Regions from separate parts of the Homo sapiens genome. Here all the other regions are linked to region 2. Evidence: promoter capture Hi-C in 16 types of primary human blood cells and fetal thymus (Javierre and others, 2016). All regions are on one chromosome and are shown on one strand. The core of a region is centred on a gene start or on the middle of the fragment in contact, and the rest is flanking DNA. Distances in the headings are between cores, read along the strand shown. Region 1 has its middle 140 kb from the start of SNTB1. Region 2 holds the start of HAS2 (hyaluronan synthase 2). Region 3 has its middle 170 kb from the start of SNTB1.

The links. Contacts are between HindIII fragments. The CHiCAGO score rates a contact against its expected background, and 5 or more counts as called.
Region 1: a contact is called between a fragment that was not itself captured here and the fragment with the promoter of HAS2 in region 2, in 2 of 17 cell types (M0 macrophages and M1 macrophages). The highest score is 6.6, in M0 macrophages.
Region 3: a contact is called between a fragment that was not itself captured here and the fragment with the promoter of HAS2 in region 2, in 1 of 17 cell types (M0 macrophages). The highest score is 5.1, in M0 macrophages.

Annotation. Positions count from the first base shown.
Region 1 is chr8:120,951,736-120,955,437 of GRCh38, reverse strand. No RefSeq gene overlaps it. Among named protein-coding and RNA genes, the nearest start is that of SNTB1, 140 kb to the right of the region's middle. The HindIII fragment of the contact is 3,174 bases long and covers 1-3,115 here.
Region 2 is chr8:121,639,097-121,642,780 of GRCh38, reverse strand. HAS2 (hyaluronan synthase 2) reads left to right here and starts at 1,341. Exons shown (of 4, transcript NM_005328.3): 1 at 1,341-1,928. It also overlaps HAS2-AS1. RefSeq lists enhancers at 59-682, 2,884-3,384, 3,385-3,684. The HindIII fragment of the contact is 9,649 bases long and covers 1-3,684 here.
Region 3 is chr8:120,978,061-120,981,468 of GRCh38, reverse strand. No RefSeq gene overlaps it. Among named protein-coding and RNA genes, the nearest start is that of SNTB1, 170 kb to the right of the region's middle. The HindIII fragment of the contact is 3,881 bases long and covers 1-3,408 here.

The sequences.
Region 1 (3,702 bases), core at 279-2,778, 690 kb after region 2:
TAATCTGAAAGAATTACACTAAAAAAAGAGTATTTTCAAAAGAGTGAGCAGAGCTTATGGAAGGCAACAAGGCCGGGGCAGCATCCTGGGGACAGGGACACCAGGGAGCACTCACCACACCTTGGGTGTAAAGGGGAAGAGAAGGGAGCCGTGGGTAGTCAGGATCTACCCAGAGACAGAACTGGATGGAGAAGGATAACTGGCCAGATGCAAACCAGACATAAGCCTGCAGCTCAGGAGGGAGTTGGGGAATAAATACTCCAAGTTCTCTCTCTTACCCACTGGCATCTCCTATTGGTGGCATCCATGGCCTGAACCAAACCAAATTCAACAGCAAAAGAACACAGTGATGGGTCCACATAAACCAGGCTTCCAGTGTGCAGAGCAGGGTGGAGACGAATGGAGAGGAGTAGAATCAGAGCACCAGCACTGCATTAGCAGAGGCAGGTTTCAACTTTTTTTGCCCCATATCCTCTCAGTGCCCAGTACATACGGTGTGTCCGAAACATTTATGAAAATGAATAAGGTGAATTGAACTGAACTGAGTTGAACTGCTTTGAACTGAATGGAACCAACCAGATTGCTGAATAGTTTCCAAGTCAGGATTTGTCCCATCTTCAAGTTATAATCATGGATATTGCACCCCTGATTCCTGATACACTCACGCCAAGCCTCTGGGTTTAACACAATTAGGAAGGCATAACATCCCATGTTCCAAGCAATTGCAGTGAAGCCTGCAGTTTACTGTTACATGACATTTTATATGACTTGATGTTTTATCTTTAATGACTGGGTCTCCCTTCCCCCAAAGCATATAGGGCATAATTTAGGCAAAGAAATATTGGTTACATCTGCAGTTTCAAACCAAAGAGGTAGTTAATGTTGCAGGTTTATATACATGCATTAAAATAAAAAAAGTGAAACTTTTACTTGAGATTTCTTCATGCATTTAGTGGCAGCATCTATAAAGGCCTCCAGGTGCTGGTATTGGCTCGCACACGGCAGCACCTTGTGAATTATCCAGCTGGCAATTCACGGAGTGCAGCTTGTCAGAGCACAGAACCATTTGAATGGCAGCTCATGCTGGCGCAGGTGACATGCCAAAGGCAAGTCACTGGCATCCATTAGGAGGGCAGTCAACAGAGTCCAGGAGTAAAAAGAGTCAGTCAGGCTGAGTCACAGTGACTCAAAAATAGCCTGCCCAATAATCAGTTATCTTAGTGGAAAAAATTGCCAGACTTTTAATTTCAGGTAACAACCTGGTTATTGGATTATCCTGCTTAACCCGTTTTGTTATTTTAATGTGGGTCCACTTTAAGAAAAATAATATTTAAGCCCAGAAATGAAATTTGAACATAAGGTGAACAGTTGGACTAGAGGGTCTTTTATGACTCCAGCACTAGAAACAGGACGCACATCATCTGCTATAGGAGAACTACTCCTTGACAGACTTTCTGTATAATAATGAAAATCATAACAGTGATTTCACCCACCATTTAAAGTATTCCATGCAATTAAATCATGCTATAAAAGGATTATAATGGCTGTACATGGGATAAAAACCACCTACTTTGATGTCAAGGTTCTCTGAGTCTGAACTGATAGGACAACACACACACACACACACACACACACACACACACACGAAAAAAATAACAGAATTCATGTTTTGTACCATCAGCTATAAAATAACATCATGATCTAATCAGTTGTGTCACATACGGCAACTCAAAAAAATTACAGCATTCCCTAAAACCTACCTCTTCTACATATTTCAACAGAAGAGTGATTTTAAATTCTGTCAAATAGCATTAAGTGGGGTAGAAATTTGAAAATGGTGAGGAGAATCTTTAACCCAGAAGTATAAATTTTATTTTAATTAAAGCTATTCAGAAATTATTAGCCCCTTGGAAAGTCCTGAGAGAGGTACTGGAACCAAAAGAACAAAGGCAAGGAGGAGGAACACACTTGAATGACAGCCAGGTGAACACCCTTGTTGGCGGGGGGGGGTCTCTGATAAACCCACGAGTGCCCCTCTACTCCCTAAAACCTACACTTGAACACCTGCCACGACAGAAAATACTGAAGTCAGATTGAGACAGCACCAAATAGGTGACACCCTCCCTCTCCTCCCCCCTCATCCTCTTCTCCTTGGGCCATACCCTGGAAGAAAATGAAGGAAAACTGGTAAGCAGTACAGTGAGATGGGAGGGCCCACCTCTTCATGGTCACATGATCGTGAACTACAGCTCAGACCTGACCTTGGTGGAGGGAAGAAACTCTAATGAGGATCTGAGATCAAAGTTTTGACTTGGACCACACTAGATTTTTCAATACCTGAAATGAGACATTTTTGATGTTGAAAGTGACTTGGTAGTCATAGGATTTTCCTAAGAGATTATCACAGGACAGGAAAGTGAGAGTCAGTGGATCAGAGAGGGCAGCAGGTAGCAAAAAAATGATGTTATCATTTTTTCTGTGCACCCAATTAATACTAGCAAGAAAATGGTTACACATGGTACTGAGAGTTCATAGTCCCAACAGCCAATATTAATACCAATATTAATATTGACCTCTGCCCCCACTGCTCCCTGAGCCACACAAAGCACTGTATGAGGCTCTCCATGCAAGCTCCGTGCCCTCCTTAAGCCAATCCCTTCCTGCAAGGAGGAGTTTCTCTACTTGGTCAGTCTGAGTCACGCACACATTCATGAATTGAAGACAAAGCCACAGGATTGAAGTTCCTACTGGTTCTATTGTAATCAAGTAGAGGGTTAAGAAGCATTTCCCAAAAGGAAGGGATGCTGAAAAAGAAAAAAAAAAAAAAAAAAGATGGACCTTACAATACCAAACGTGTGGCCTACCACATCAGCACACCCGTATTTACTTGTTCTGTTGTCAGTTGTCAGAAATCATCTACTTCTGCCTTTTAAACTAACCTACTTTTTAAACTTTTTTTCTTGAATAGTAGGATTGATTCAGAGAATCAAGGAGCAGGATGTCAGCAAGGCAGAGTAAACGTGAGGTAGACTTAAAGCAAACTGATGTAAATTTAATTCCTGGTTCTTCCAGCAACCTGTACTATTTGTGACAAATCACTTCATATCTCCAAGCTTTAAAACTTCTGTAAGTCTTACAAAATTAACCTTAAAAGAGGGAAAAATAGTCATTAGCCACATGAATGACCTCAAAAACAATTCAATACCTCCAAGCCTCACAAGTCTTTTGTTTTGTTTCGTTTTTCGTTGAGACGGAGTCTTGCTCTGCCTCCCAGGCTGGAATCAAGCAATTCCTTGCCTCAGCCCCCTGAGTAGCTGGGATTACAGGCGCCCACCACCATGCCCAGCTAATTTTTGTATTTTTAGTAGAGATGGGTTTTCACCATCTTGGCCAGGCTGGTCTTGAACTCCTGACCTCAGGTGATCTGCCCACCTCAGCCTCCCAAAATGCTGGGATTATAGGCGTGAGCCACTGCGCCCAGCCACAACTCTAAAAATCTTACAAAATAGGGCTAGGCACCATGGTTCATACTTGTAATCTCAGCACTTTGGGACGCTGAGGCAAGAAGATTACTTGAGCCCCAGCGTTTGCAGCTACAGTGAGCCATGATCATGCCACTGCACTACAGCCTGGGCAACAGTAAAACCCTGTTTTTAAAAACCATAAAAAAACTTACAAAATTAATCTAGAGAGAGAAAAGAA
Region 2 (3,684 bases), core at 92-2,591:
GTATTGCACTAAAATGCTTGACCCCTAATCACATCCCCCAACACTACACCTTGTGCGACGTGATGAAAGCATCATTTCCAGTTTATTCGACTTTTCTGTTTAGACTTATTCATTATAGCCCATATATGTGATAAGGACTAAGAACCCAGTCTTCAAGGTCCTGTCGAGTTCCAAAGAAGTCCACCCCTCAGAAGATCCTTGGAAGGGGAAGAAGGAAAAAAGAAAGAAAGAAAAATCTGTTTTACCCTATAACAATTTCAGCGCAATCTCCCAAGACCAAGTTGGTTAATTTGTAAAGTCACTCTCATTTTTTCCTCAACAGTGCCACCTACTGTCCATTTTCAGTCATCAGCAGGCTTGTTGGCAAGGTCCAAGAGAAAGAAAGGAGGCGGAGTGGTGGGGGGAGGAGTAACCAAAAAACGAACTCTACCCAGCCTTGGGGCATTGTGAAAACGACGAGGAAAGGCCATCTCCAAGCAAGACATATTTGTCCTCGTCAACTTTGCAGAAGGCTTGCAAAAAGCAAAAGCCAGTTAAGCCATTTCCTTCAAGATGGCTAAATATAAGTCCTCCAGAAAACAATTTTTATTATTTTATTTTTAATGCGCGCTGTTTGAGTATGTTTACGTTAGGGGACCAGATTGAGCAAAAATATACATATAATTACTTTTCTATGTTTTCCGCCCACCCACGGCAGAAACCTCTTTATGAGAAAGGCTTTGACACTTGACGTCAGCTCAGAAACTTTTGAGTTGGCGGGAAGAAAGGGTTAACAAGTGGTGGACCAGCGCGATCTTTTTAGAGTCCCAGCCGGCTGTCGAAGGCTCCAGGTACACACACACACGCACACACTTACACACACACACACACACGTGCACACACCCCTCCCAACTGTTCCTCCTTGGGTCGGTTACTTAGCTGAAGGGCACCATTTGGCTTTAAAACAAATTACTTCAGCGCCACAGGGAGTTTATCGCTTGGAGGGAACTTGTAACGCGGGAGTTCAGGGAAATCCAAGAGGCGAGGGCTCCCACCTCCGCCGCCAGAGGAAAGTAAGGAATCAGGTGGTGGCCCCCTATGTGTCTTGCATTTCTCTGCACACGTTAGCAATCAAGTTAATTGAATTCATTGGAGTTTAGAACCGGCCTGTAGCTCAGAGAAGGCTTTGAATGGCCAATTTCTCTCTCTCCCTCTCCCCCTCCCCGCCTCCCGCTCGCCCGCCCGCCCGCGCTCCCAGTTCCCTCCCCTCAGGGTTCCCCAGTCCACACCTCCCTCTCCACTTCCCTCACCCCCCCACTCCCTCCGCCGCCCTATTAAAACACCCACCAGCTCACTTGTTAAGACCCCCTTAAGTTGGAGGAGGCAGAAGGGCAACAACGGCGGGGAAGGAGAAGTCAAGACGTCTGGAAAGAATTACCCAGTCCTGGCTTCGAGCAGCCCATTGAACCAGAGACTTGAAACAGCCCCAGCCAAAGACTTTTCTCCCAATTCTGCGCTTCCTGGGTTCTGCTGAGTCTTCCACAGGCTTTTTTTTTTTTTTTTTTTTTTTTTAAGACGAAAAAGAGATTTTCTGTTATCGGGGGCAGAAAGACTGAAGCCCAAAAAAAAAAAAAAAAAAAAAAGAAAAGAAAAGAAAAAAGAAAAGTTAATTTATTTTTAAAGCATAATTTTTTTAAGAATTAGACTGAAGTGCAACGGAAACATAAAGAGAATATTAGTGAAATTATTTTTTAAAGTGGGGAAGAATCAAACATTTAAGACTCCCCTATCCTTTTTAAATGTTGTTTTTAAATTTCTTATTTTTTTTGGCCGGTCGTCTCAAATTCATCTGATCTCTTATTACCTCAATTTTGGAAACTGCCCGCCACCGACCCTCCGGGACCACACAGACAGGCTGAGGACGACTTTATGACCAAGAGCTGAACAAGGTACGTTACACTGGCGCGTTTTGGTGAAGGATGAAGGTCCTCCAACAGGCCAGGGAGAAGGAAGACATCCTTATAATTGTTTTAAAATTTTTAAGCCAGTTTCGATAGAAAAGTTGGAAGTTTAAAAATTTCCAACAGACTGAAGATCAGGGAATATTTCAGGTCACTGTCAGGCTTAGCAACATAGCCCTCTTTTCCCATTTCTGCGGCTCTCGCCAGAAATCCGCTGCCTTTCTGGGGACACAGGTAGCCTCTCTGCCTGGGAAAGGCTGCACGTCCTCAGATGTACTTTTCCATTTTGCATCTTCCGGAGCAGCAGAGGGGCTCCAGAGTTAGGAAACAAGAATTCCCAATGTAAGGAAAATGCATTCTGCACAGCCGCCCCACCCCTTCCCTTCTTTTTTTCCCACACACACACACACACACACACACTGTGGGGAGAAAAACTGGAATAGCCCAGCGCGTTTTACTTCTAAGTGAAAAAGTCGCTTCTTGCTGGGAATGCAAAGGGTTAAGCAATCTGGGCTTCCAGCTCCGACAAGCTGGGACCCTGGAGAAGGAGGGTCCTTCTCTACCTCCTCGCAGCTACCATCCCCTCTCGGCCACTCCCCCCTTTCCCGGGCCTCCCCTCCTTTGCACTTCCCGCACCCCATTAAAGTGTCAGGCTCGTCAGTCTGGGCTTACTCGGGCCAGGGGTCCCTGACGCAGGCGGTGGCACCCGCAGATAGGAGCGGGAGGAGGGCGCGCATCCCTCCTCTCCTCGCCGGGCCAGCCCGCCGGCCGCCCGGAGGCAGGGCGTGCGTGGGGACCGCGCGCTGCGCTTCGGCAGCTGCGGCGTCCCCAGAGCCAATTCCGACGTGGCACCGCGCACGCCGGCGCTTCTCTCCTCAGCTGCAGCTGGGGACACTGCCCGGTGGGAGATCTGGGGGCGCCGTCTCGAGCGCCCAGCCGATGAACGGGGCGAGGGGCCTGTGGGAGCTGGGGTGGAGGTGGGAGGGAAGCCAGAGGCTGGGTTGGGATGGATAATCAACACCTTGGGGGGAATTCGTCACGGCAGTTCCCGCCCAGCGTGAGCCAGGGCTCCGAAATGGGTCCCTGTGAACAGGAGGGCGGGTCTGAAAGGAGGGTCTGTATGAGGGTGAGAACCGGGAGGCGAAAGAGCCTTTTTCCTCTGACCACGGAAACGCAGCCGCGGGGGAACGGCGCTGAAAGGATAATTAAAGCTGCAAAGAGGCGCTGGGAGCACAGGGGCGGTGCCTGGGGAGGAGGACTTGCAAGACCTGTGTCCTATTACACAGTCTTAGGTGCCAGTTCCCCTAGCGCCTCTCCCTCCGTCCCCCAAACGTCCGCGCTGAATACTTGGACTCAAGGACACCGCGCGCCTCTGGGGCGAACGAGCTGCAGCAGCCCAGCTACGGGAGGGAACGTGTAGAAGCCCCATCAGCCTCTCCCTGCCCACTCCCTCACCCTTGGGACCGTTGCTGCCTGTTGGGTCTCAGGAGCAATTGCCCAGAAACGCGACGCTGCTCCAACCCACGTGTCTGGGCTGGGATTGCCTTTGACGTCACACACGGGGGAGGTGTGACGCAATAGATAGGGAAGCCCCGATTGGCCACCAAGGGCTTCCCCCAACTGGAGGCCTGAGTATATATAGACCATCAGCTCAGTGTTAGAATAAAGAGAAGGAAGTTGGTAGATGGGCTTTGCTGAAGGAGTGAGGCCGCTTGTTAAGAGGGAGACAACTTCACTGCTCATT
Region 3 (3,408 bases), core at 315-2,814, 660 kb after region 2:
TATCCAGCATATAAAACAGGACAAAGGAAAACTACCATAAAGGGAAATAGTGATAAACTGAACTTTACTAAAGTTAAGATCCAAAGATATCACTGAGGGAGTGAAAAAGCTGTGAGAATACGTTTATAATAAATAAATCTGACAAAGAACTTGTATTTAAATTTTTTTAAATCTACATCAAAAATAAAGGACAATACAATTTTTTCAAGTAGGTGAAAGACTTAGTTCACAAAAGAAGGATACTTAGCTAAAAATAAGCATAGAAAAGTTGATCAACGCGATGAGGTATTGGAAAACTGCTCATTAAAACCACAGTGATGAAATATTTATATATCCATTAAAATGACTAAAATTTTAAAAATAACAATTGAATGGATCAGTGTTAGAGAGTATGTAGAGAACTAGAGTCCTCTTATTTTGCTGGTGGTCCAGTAAATTGGTACAACTACTTCAGAAACTATTAGATGCTTTCTACTAAAACTGAATAGATATGTATCCAATGACCCAGCAATTCCTCTCCTGATACATTCCCAAAAGAAATGCATAAGTGTACAGATTTGTGCAAAAGAGATATTCAAGAATGCTTAAAGCAGTATTATGGTGAATAACCAAAAATGAGAATTGACCCAAAAGTCCATAAACAGTGGAAAATAACATTGTGGTAATATATTCACACAATGGGATACAATACTGCAATAAAAGGAAGAAACAACTGCTCTATGCAATGGTATAAATGAATTTCAAAAACATGATGTTGAGCAAAAAACACAAATTCTATGATTCCTTTCATGTAAAATTCAGAAAGACAAAACTAGCCTAGGGTAACAGAAGCCAGGATATGGTTATCTTTGGCACAGGTAGGAAGGGCTGAAGGAGGCAGGGATGATTCTGTACTATTGACAGTGTTCTCTATTTTTATCTGGATGGGGTTACACAAATGTGTTCACTCTGTAAAGTTCATTAAGTTTTAAACTTAAGGTTTGTTCACTTTACCAAATGTAGTTTGTATATCAATTTAAAAATATACAAGGAAGTCCATATCCTTCTTCATATTTCTAATTAGAACTTCTGAATTCCATACAACCAAATCTGTGGCTTTAGGGTAAACTTGGAAATATGACTGGAATGCAACCATCCACACAGAGCATTCCCATTCTCCATATGCACAAGGCTACCTTTTTTCATTTTTCAATTGAGCATTCTCTGAGTGATGGTTTGTGGGTACCATCACGGACAGAAATGAAAAGCAAGAGGTGAGTTCCTAAAACACTCATAAAATAGGAAATATGCATAGACTACTAAACATAAAACAATGTGCTTTAAGTGCATTATTTAATTTAATCTTCACAATAAACATTTGAAATACATACCATTATTATCCCTATTTTAGAGGTAAGAAAACGAAGGGCCAGAAATGTTTAGTCTCTTGTCAAGGTTTACACTGCTGACAAGTGGCTAGAGTCAAGATTTAAACCCAAATATGTCAATTTACCATGTCAACTCCAGGGACTACGTTATTAAACACTAGCTTACCCTGCCCTCAATAAAACTGAGGATGTGGGAAATATATTCTCTCTTCCCTGTCTGCCCAAGGAAGAACTTTGTAGTAAGGAAATAGGTGGAAAGTCATGCAGACATTTCATTTTCAGAGCTCCATTCTGGCCAGGAACGCTTAGTCCTCTATCTGGGCATGCCCTCTCTATGGAAAGCATTTGTCCAACATGGAATGGAAAGACAGCATGCAGCCTTTAGAGTCTGAAAGATTTCAGAGCTCTTCCTCTTGTGTGCTCTTGGACAAATCCATTTCCCCATCTATCAAATGATGAAGATGGATCTTTTTCATAAAGTTATTCAGTGAATTAAAATGGAAAATGTCTATTGTCTTAAACTGATGCATTGGGAAGTTTTATGTTTTGCTTTTTAAAAAATTTAATTATATTTTATGTTATTTATTTATTTATTTTTGAGGTAGAGTTTTACTCTGTCACCCAGGCTGGAGTGCAATGGCGCAGTCTTGGCTCACTGTAACCTCTGCTTCCTGGGTTCAAGTAATTTTCCTGCCTCAACCTCCCAAGTAGCTGGGATTACAGATGCCTGCCACCACACCTAGCTAATTTTTGTATTTTTAGTAGAGATAGGGTTTCACCATGTTGGTCAGGCTGGTCTCAAACTCCTGAACTCAGTGATCCATCTGCCTTGGCTTCCCAAAGTGCTGGGATTACAGGTGTGAGCCACTGCACCTGTCCTATTTTATGTTTTAGAGATAGTGTCTGATCTCTGTCACCCAGGCTGGAGTGCAGTGGCATGATCATAGCTCACTGTAACCTCAAACTCCTGGGCTCAAGCAGTCCTCCAGCCTCAGCCTCCCGAGCAGCTAGGACTACAGGCATATGACACCACGCCAAGCTAATTTTCTTATTTTTTGTAGAGACCAGGTCTTGCTCTGTTGCCCATGCTGGTCTTGAACTCCTGGCCTCAAGCAATCCTCCCATCTTGGCCTCCCGAAGTGCTGAGATTACACCTGTGAGCCACTGCACTGGGCCATGCTTTTGTTTTTTAACCACAGTGGAGCATAACCTATGTTGTCCGACATATATTCCTTTGAGATGTCTCTTAACCCTCACAATAGTCCTGGGATGTATTTCAGAGAGGTGATTAACTTACAGATTAACAGTGTTTAAATTAAAGTTTCTCAAACCCTCATCCGCTGCACAAAACTGCTCTAAATTCCTTTCCTCGTTCCTCCTTATGTGACCTTGCCTAAACCATTTGGAAGAACACTCAAGTATTTTGTTTCCTTTTAAATTTCGAATGCATACTAAATTTAAAAGGAGAAAGCAGCTACATTCCTGCTTCCTTCCTTCTGGATCTCATCCTGATCCTTCTCAATAATTCATAGCTAAATAATTATAGTTACCACTTAAGCATCACCTTATTGGTGACACATCTTAATATGCAATCATTTTTGCCCAAAACCTTTCTGTTCCTTTTATTACCCTCTTCACAATTTGCCGTCATTACCCACCCAATTTTACAAATTGGTAACCTCAGAGTCAACTATGGTTCTTTACTTCCCTTCAACCCATAAAGTCACTGTTTCAAGACAGATTCTGAGTTTAGCCCACTGTCTCAAAACCTTCCTACTGCAGGTAGTTCTTGCAATCTGGATTTTTAGCCATTCAGTTGCGTGTGGCATCTTCTCACCTAGTCCCTCTGTTTCCTTCTCTCCTCTCTCCTCTCATCTCCACTACCTTTAAAAGAAAATCCAAACTTCTTAAATGGCCAATAAGGCCTGTCACTCTCTAGACCTACCTTTCCAAGTGCCTCACATCTCTTTTCACACCCTATACTTCTGCTGCTGTGACATTATCTCCATTCATTTCGTGATTCTTTGTGCAAGCTGGGGTT